Regions from separate parts of the Homo sapiens genome. Here regions 2 and 3 are each linked to region 1. Evidence: promoter capture Hi-C in human tissues and cell types (Jung and others, 2019). All regions are on one chromosome and are shown on one strand. The core of a region is centred on a gene start or on the middle of the fragment in contact, and the rest is flanking DNA. Distances in the headings are between cores, read along the strand shown.

Region 1 (2,994 bases), core at 344-2,843:
CTGATTCTTTTTCCTTTACCATTGCTTCAAGGCCATATCTGCAACCCAACCTGTAGTGTTGGGTTGAATTTAGTCTCAAGGTGCTGCCTTCATCTAGGAAGAGGTATTTAAGGGCCCAGGAAGATGAGGCTAGGAAGGAGATGGTAGACTTCAGATGTTTTAGGAGTCCCAGTACATAAGATTTGACACCCTGTGGAGAACAGAAAAAGTCAAGAACAGCTCCTAGGTTTAAGCTTGGATGACTGAGTTATTGATAACTAGTTCAAAAGTCCCGGGATGAGAGGTAGGTTTAGAAGTGTGGATAATGAATTTGACTTGGGGCAGTGAAAAATACAAAACTGGAAATCAGAAGAGAAGTCAGAACTGAAATACAGATTTGGCTGTTATCACCATTTCATGTAAATTTTAAAAGGAGAAGGAGCAAGAAGAGTTGTCACTATAGCCAGATACAGCAGGATGAGGATTTTTTAAAAGGCCATTGGATTTGACAGCTGAAAAATCACTGATGACTTCAAGAAGACCAGTTTCAATAGATGTGGGTGGGGACAGAGCCACATCATGGTTGGTTTAAAGAATGAAGGGCTATGATTGTCTAGCCAAGGTCATTGTGCTCTTCCTCCTAGGAAACATTGAAACTGAGGTCAGAGCCTCTCTTTCTCCCTCCCTCCTTAGCTTTCTGCACACAGGGCCCACAACTGGATGCCTGAGCTAGGGGCATGATGGAGGGACAAATTAAGATTGTTGGGTTTCTGGTGGGATAAGGGCCTAAGGATAAAGGAGCCTGATGTTGGTGAGTCATATATTGCAGGGAGCATCCTCAGTGGGGGACAGTGGGTCAGGCCAGTTCAGAGACCTGTCTCTAGAGTGGGAAAGAGAAGACACACACCTAGATCTCTGTTGGTTGAGGAAACTCTGGACCAAGAAGCTGGGTTAGAATGGGAAACAAAAGGACCTTCAAGGCTAGGGGAAGAAACATGGAATTAGTTACAAAGTTCTGCCCCAGGGAGGGAGTGGAATCTGGCAGTTTGGGGGTGGGGTCGGGGGTAGAATCTGAGGTAGTAAACTGATGTTAACTAGAAACTCAAGCAGGGTTGCCTAGGTTTCTTAGGGCACAGGGACTGGGGATGTGCAAAGAGGAACTGTTGGCAGTACTTGTGACCATAAAGATAGTAGTGAGGGGGCAGTTTATGAATTGAGGGGTCGTCCCAGCAATATCTGGCATATAGATATTTAATAATTATTTGTGAAGACAAGAGGTTAGGTAGCTCCTGGGGATCAGGGTCCAGAGTTTCTGAACAGGCATAAGAAAATACCTGGGTTCTATTCAGGCAGGGGATGGAGGCAGTGAGTAAGGGACTCCAGACAGCTTGGAGATGCAAATCCCACAAGGGAGCTTTGTACCTCTATGGGAGTTGGAAGCAAAGGTCAGGGTAGGGGGCTCACTCCCTTAACCCTAGGACCCAGGAGTTCCTATGGATCTACCAGATTTCCCCGCCTACGCACAGGCACCCTTGGCTTGTAACGCCTTCTCCGCCCACTGGGGGGCGGGGCTTGAGGGGGCCGGTGGCTGTTCTGAAGCCTCGAGGGCCATCAGTTCCTACCAGAGCCGCTGCGGGTGCCATTCCACCCATGGCCGGACACAGGCCCTCAAACCACTTCTGCCCCCTTCCAGGCAGTGGTGGGGGCGGCCCCAGAGGGCCGATGCCCCTGCGGGTTGACACTCTGACCTGGTTGAGCACCCAGGCGGCCCCTGGCAGGGTGATGGTCTGGCCGGCAGTCAGGCCAGGGATCTGCCCAGGCCCTGACGTGTGGAGGATTCCCCTGGGTCCCCTGCCACACGAATTCCGGGGCTGGATAGCACCCTGCAGGCCCCGTCTTGGAGCTAGTGAGGCAGGGGACTGGTTGCGACGCCCCTCCGAAGGCGCCCTCCCGGGGCCCTACATTGCCCTGCGGAGCATTCCGAAGTTGCCGCCGCCAGAGGACATCTCGGGCATACTGAAAGAGTTGCAGCAATTGGCCAAGGAGTTGAGGCAGAAGAGGTTGAGCCTAGGGTACTCGCAGGCCGATGTGGGGATCGCTGTGGGAGCTCTGTTTGGGAAGGTGCTTAGCCAGACGACCATCTGCCGCTTCGAGGCCCAGCAGCTAAGCGTCGCCAACATGTGGAAGCTGCGACCACTGCTGAAAAAGTGGCTGAAGGAAGTGGAAGCAGAGAACCTTCTGGGCTTATGCAAAATGGAGATGATCCTGCAACAGTCTGGGAAGTGGAGACGGGCAAGCAGAGAGCGACGAATCGGAAACAGCCTGGAGAAATTCTTCCAGCGGTGCCCTAAGCCCACACCCCAGCAAATCAGCCACATTGCTGGGTGCCTCCAGCTGCAGAAGGATGTGGTTCGAGTTTGGTTCTATAACCGCAGCAAGATGGGCAGTCGACCAACCAATGATGCTTCCCCACGGGAGATTGTGGGGACAGCCGGGCCTCCTTGCCCAGGAGCACCAGTGTGCTTTCACCTGGGACTGGGGCTCCCAGTGGATATCCCCCACTATACACGTCTCTACTCTGCAGGGGTAGCCCACTCCTCTGCCCCAGCCACCACTCTGGGCCTCCTCAGATTTTAGGGCTGAGGGGCTTGCCCTTCACGGCACGGTTGGAGAGGGGAGAAGAAGGGAAAACCCAGGAAATGTCCCTAGGGTTCATTTGAGGGCTTTTAGTATTAATTTCTCATTCACTGTCTAAAGAAGTTAAGGATACATAGTAGGGAATGGGGGTGGGAATTGTTCAAGAAAAACCTGGGAGAGAAGATGAAGTTTATTGCAGTTTTGTGTTTTCCCTTTGTTTTTCCCTAGCATTGGTTTAAAGGTACATTACAGTATATAGATGGTTTCGATATTTTGTTCCTTTTTTTATTAAATATTGTGTCTGTTATTCCTTGTGGTTATCAGTAAACATAGGGTTTAAATTTTTTCATAAACACAATACTAAGTGAAAAACTCAAG
Region 2 (2,994 bases), core at 137-2,636, 62 kb after region 1:
AGAATATTACAACAGTCTGGAGCTCGTGTTTCCCAAACTATACAACTGGGAATAGTAATTCTGAGAGCTCAAAATAGTAATAAAAGCACCTATTTGGGGGATTTTTTTTTCTTGACTGGAAAAAAAAGGAAACATTACATATAAAATCTTCTTCTTGGAGATACACTACACATTAACACATTAAAGGCCTGTGCCAGAGAAATCCATAATTTCACAAACTTATTTGCAGATAAAAGGCTTTGTTCATTGTGTACCTATTCATAAACATATCACTGTGTTCCACTGAAATTACTGGAAATTTTGGTCTTATCAATTACCTACTTATTTATAAATCTATCTAAGAAACAATAGAAGAAAGGGAAAGATAAAACTCAAAACTTCATTAGAAAGGTACTGAGACATCATTTAGTCCAGACCCTGTCTTTAATCTTGGTAATCAGAAACCGAATGTTACCTTTGACTTTGACACCTTTCTGGTCAAATTAAGTAGTGCCTTTAATGATACTTGTTTGCCAATCCTCTTTCCCTCATGAGACCATAAAATACCCAATAATCAGATTAACCTTTGTCTTACCATCATTGTAATCTCTAAATCTGGCTGATAGTAGGTGGTAGAAAAATACTTGTTGACTTGAAAGTGATGAGAAAACTAAACAGTTTGTGGCATACCTGTAATTACATGGATGATAGCAGGATACATTGAAAATAAATGAATTCCAAGAATTATGTTGAAAATTTTAGCTATGAGAGTGAGGAGAAACTTGAAGACAAGATACTTGGTATATTCCAGACATAACTCTAAAACTAACTAGCAATTATGATCTTGATCAAATCACTTAAGTTCTCTGAGACTCTGTTTCTTCTAGTTATAACTCTAAAATATTGGGGGAATCTCCATTTTTTATTATGACAAATAATCAAAAATTAACTAGATGTTGTGATTTACATTGGAAATATATTCTTATAAGAGACCACCTTTAAATACACAAGAGTTTTTAAGTATTTACTTCTTTATATTTATACTTAAACAGTATTCCTGAACCTCACAACTTTTTGTTTTCTTATTTTCCTCTTCGTTCCAGGCCTATCAAAGATGATGGAATCTTTGAAAGTGTGTCGATGTGTATGCTTATGTAATATTAGGACTGAAATTTTTAAATCTTAAAATGTGAAAGCTCCAGTTGTCAGAAGATCATAAGTCTTTACTTTTAAGGACTGTTAAAAATCACCTTCTGTGAGATCTCAGCTTTGGGATTTTTTTTGACATTTCAAGACTTAAATTTGAAAGTGTAGAATCTCTATAAATACAACATTACCACAAGCCCAAAAAAGTCAAGAAATGCAAAAGGTTAGATTCTTACTAACTCCTCTCCCACATTATGCTCTAAATTGAGTTATGTATCTTTGAGTTAAATACGTAATCAGGAATACTTTATATGAAATACAGTTTAAGTTATGACATATTAAGTTTTTCTCTTTGAATTTTGGGGCATAAAATTGTGTATGTAAATCATGCAATATCACATTTTTTGCATGTGCCCTTAAGGCTTTTTTATGTTTTCTTCACATAGTCCCCTCATTTACAACTTTATCTTGCTGTGGACTAACCATATGGGAAATCCACTATTTTAAACTTAAGCTATTTTTGTGGTGTTACTGCATAAGAAAATGCCTTTAGAGTAGAAAAATCATATATTTTTTAACCAGATTATATAAATAAAAATTAATTTTTGTCTAGTGGTCATTTCTTAGTTCAATTTGAAGTATATCATTTTTAATTCCTAAATATTTCTAGAAAGCCTCCATTGCCATGGCCAAGTGAAAAATCGAAGATAATAAAGAAGTGCCATGAGACCTGGACATTTTCGACGTGTTGAAGATTTAAAATTATGTGTAATTTACATGAGACATATAAATGAAAGGATAGACTTCACTAAGATTTTTTTTTTTTGCTTTAAAAATAGGGTATTTCTCTCCTGCAGCAGCATCTCACATCTCATACATATGTGCATATTTAGTTTTCTATGTAGCATTCAGTCCCAAGAACACTAATTATAATTTTAAATTATCAATAAGATATAGGCTTAAAGTACAGTAGATGTTGAATTTCATATCTCTTATAAGATTCCCTATCTAAAGAAAGCAACTACTTTATGCTTTTATTTTCATTTTTTAGAAATTGTTATGAACTTCATAGTCACTTATATTCCACTTTTTACGTTAAAAGCACTCTTTGAATTTGTAGTGTGCAAATAGGTATATGGTTTTTATGTCTAAGAAAAACATTGCCGATGGTAATTCATCTGTGTATCAGGAAACAAGTGAAAACCAACACACAATCCTCAGTTCACATGGGACCATCTCAAAGTGTTTCTTTGAAGTCCCTGTTGGTAATATTTACAAAATGGCTTGCCATTAACTTGTTAGTATGCTCATTACTTTTGTTTAGAAAAAACCTCAGTTATATTGCTTTTTTTTTTTTTAGACGAAGTCTTGCTCTGTTACCCAGGCTGGAGTGTAATGGCCCGCTCTCTGCTCACTGCAACCTCCGCCTTCTGGGTTCAAGCGATTCTCCTGCCTCAGCCTCCCTAGTAGCTGGGATTACAGGCGCCTGCCACCACACCCAGCTAATTTTTGTATTTTTAATAAAGACGGGGTTTCACCATGTTGGCCAAACTGGCCTTAAACTCCTGACCTCAAGTGATCCACCCACCTCGGGCTCCCAGAGTGCTGGGATTACAGGCGTGAGCCACCGCACTCGGCCACATTTAGATTTTTGCTTGTTTATTTGTTGTCTTTGAAATATTTCTTCTGCCCACCTTGATTATGATTGCCCCAGCAAGAGTTTACCAAACAGTAGTTCCTTAGGTGTCCTGCTATTTTCCTAAGAAATCTTCACTTGGAATTTTATATATCTCTTCTGATGGAAGGATAACTGAATTCTATAATTTTGTTGTCTTTTACATTTGATACGATACAGACAGTCATGTTGAA
Region 3 (2,994 bases), core at 221-2,720, 37 kb before region 1:
GTGAAACCTATCCTGAACTAAAAGACCACGCATAGATGCTAAGCCAGCCTCTTGAGGAGAGAGAGGTAAAAGGTAAATGAAGGCAGCTCCTGAATTACTTCTTACTTCAAACCCCAGGACTGTCTAGGCTGAGTGGGCAAATGTTTCCCAACATACCCCTGGCCTCTGAAATTCTCCAGCCACACCAGATGTGCGGCTCTACATAATAGTTGTGAACCCTTCCTATCACCATTCAACTCTGAGTGTAGGGCTTTAGAAACTTGACCTAGTGAACCATAGTTGTATTTGTCCGAGGACACAAAACCTTTCACATTAAAAATCAGCCTTTAAAGCAATGGCGATTTACAACTCAGACAAATGCAATAAAAATGAATAAAAATCAAGCCTCAACCAAGGTAGTAAGCATCTCCAAATACCTCCAGACACCTTGCACAGGAATAGCTACTACCTGCTTTTCTCTTTAAATATAATATACTAAATTGTAATGTTTTTATTTAAAAAAAGTTATTTCAAACCTACTCTGAAATATTGTTGACCCTTGGTTCAAATGTCAAAGGGAATCACTCAGCACTGGGGCCTGTAGGCATTTCTAATCCATATCAATAGCTCCCCAAATTTTGGATGTTACAAAAAGGAAAATTTACAACCACAAAAATCTATAGGATCATCATTTTAGGGTAAAAAAATGTTTAAACTGAAAACACTTAGCTTTAAGAAATACTTTCTACATTACCTATTTTTCTCTTTTTCCTTCAGACCCAGAGAAACATTAGTCATGCGATCTGTCCCTATCTGCCCGCCCTGGCCAAGGACTTCTTTCTCTATGCTTGTTTGTTGGGACTAGGGGAGGCTGCATCTGAGACTCAAGCATGGCACTATTGGTACCTTGAGTTCAACATACCTTGTTGCCTATTCAGGGGACCTGAGAATAAATCTCAGGGGCTGCTAACCCTGTCCAGCATGTTTTGAATTTAGATAGGGCTTTCCTAGTGGGCTGCCTGCATCACTACTCGGAACACTTTGGTAGTGTTCATCTCAACTAAAAATTGGGATGGGGACAAACGGGGGCCTTGAAAAAAGGGACACGTAAGTATTAGAAAAGCACCAAAAGACACTTGACTTCTAAACTATAGTAACACATTTCAGAATAGGGAGTTAGATTTGATAAAATAACATTTCAGACAGATTGAATTTAGATATAATAGCTGTATGTCTTTCTTTGCATATGTTTATTTTATTTCATTATGCTCTATCATATAGCAAACATTTAACTTGTTTTGCCCTTTTTTCTATATACTTTTTGGGGTAAAAATGCCACATGCCCCTGCACGTGCGCGCGCGCGCGCACACACACACACACACACACACACACACACACACTCTGAAATGACCATATCAAATCTGTATAGTTCTGCACAGGTACTTGGTCATTGCAGAGAACTTTTGGACATACTCACTTTAATTATAGGATGTTAAACTTCTGTCCAGTTTTTATGAGAGATCAAAGCCTTAAACATGTGGCTAGATAAAAACTGAAATTTTACAAACATAAAATGTTAACTTATATTTTGCTTTAAGTGTTTGAGTTAAAGGTGAGCTGAGCAAACTGGACAAAAGTTCATTTTGTTCAGCTTTTTAAAGTAACAATTTAGAAAATGATTAATCCTCTGCATACTGTAATGTGCCATCACTTATATTAATACTAGAAAATCCTATAAGACATAGTTTTACATATGTGAAGTGTAGGTGAGCAGTAGGAAGACCGACATATCACCTGGTTAATAGCTGACTTTCATCAGATTTGGAGGTACTAGTTGGATGAATAATAATTAAAATACATACAGTACCTAATCGCTGCCTGTCTGTCGGTAGTGCTAATTGCTGTCATTGAAAAGACTGAATTGTTTAAAAAAAAGAGAGAGAAAGAGAAAGTCATTCTTCATTGAAGCTATCTCCCTGTATCATTGGGAGCCTATTTTTAGTACCTATAGAAGTCATGATTTTTGAATTTATTAGGGGCTGTGATGAATGATAAAACAAATCATCCATTTACATATCTTGACACTGCTTTGGAGAATACTTATTTCTTACAAGCAAGTGTCACATTGTATATAAAAGCTGGCTAATTGTGTGCTAATCTTCTGCATTATCTAGAACTCTCTGATGTGGTATTCTATCAATGGTAATATTAATTTTACTTATTTCAAATGTATGAAATATCTTCTAAAACCCTATTTCTTTTATAGTTTCTACTCTTACATTGTGTAATTTTGCATTCAACTGCTAATTAAGATTAGGAGAGCACATTATAGAATATGTATCCATTTTAAACCATCAAGCTTTTGTAATGCATGAAAAATACTAATATTTTATCCATTTTAAATGTAAAAAGAGAGAAAGTATTTAAGAACATTACTAGATGTTATGTTTGTTTTCATGTTTTTTTTCCTACACAGTTCAATAGTTTCATTGATCTACTGTTTCTTACAAAAATCTGCCATGCTTTGTGAACTTCACTTTCTAATCTCATACAGCAACCCTTCCTTTATGTTATTCCTGCTCTCCCTGGTCCCAGAACAGTAGGGTTGCCTTGACAAATCTATTCAAAAGCCATTCCTCGGCCTTTATTGGTGAGGACTGGGGCCTTTGAAATTCTCTCCTCACTGCAACACAGCTGACATCTTCTTCCAGACAGAATGAATTAAGGAAATACAATAAGACACTTGATCTACCAGTCAAGGATCTTTCCACAGTGAGGACGGATTCCATGGTGCACAACCAGGGAAGCAAGCATCTAAAAATACACAATACATGCTTGTTTACCAGAATAGCAATCAGCGATTTTGGCAAAATGATTGATGGGATGATTTCTTTAAAAAAAAAAAATCTGTCTGGAAATTCATTGTGTGTGTGAGAGTGTGTATGTGTGTGTGTGTTGAGACATTTTTTAGAAACCATATGATGATAATCACATATTTTTAGCCAGACTTCAAA

What was found. Contacts are between HindIII fragments. The study calls those that stand out against the background at their distance.
Region 2: a fragment that was not itself captured here is called in contact with the fragment with the promoter of POU5F2 in region 1 in 3 of the 25 tissues and cell types used here (H1 embryonic stem cells, hippocampus and mesenchymal stem cells).
Region 3: a fragment that was not itself captured here is called in contact with the fragment with the promoter of POU5F2 in region 1 in 1 of the 25 tissues and cell types used here (H1 embryonic stem cells).

What each region holds. Positions count from the first base shown.
Region 1 is chr5:93,740,199-93,743,192 of GRCh38, reverse strand. POU5F2 (POU domain class 5, transcription factor 2) reads left to right here and starts at 1,593. Exons shown (of 1, transcript NM_153216.2): 1 at 1,593-2,994. The coding sequence starts at 1,630. The coding sequence ends at 2,616. The region is part of intron 10 of ARB2A (ARB2 cotranscriptional regulator A); the gene reads left to right. The HindIII fragment of the contact is 4,314 bases long and covers 1-2,994 here.
Region 2 is chr5:93,678,244-93,681,237 of GRCh38, reverse strand. The region is part of intron 10 of ARB2A (ARB2 cotranscriptional regulator A); the gene reads left to right. Among named protein-coding and RNA genes, the nearest start is that of MIR2277, 59 kb to the right of the region's middle. The HindIII fragment of the contact is 9,368 bases long and covers 1-2,994 here.
Region 3 is chr5:93,777,477-93,780,470 of GRCh38, reverse strand. All of the region lies in intron 9 of ARB2A (ARB2 cotranscriptional regulator A), which reads left to right. Among named protein-coding and RNA genes, the nearest start is that of POU5F2, 37 kb to the right of the region's middle. The HindIII fragment of the contact is 3,965 bases long and covers 1-2,994 here.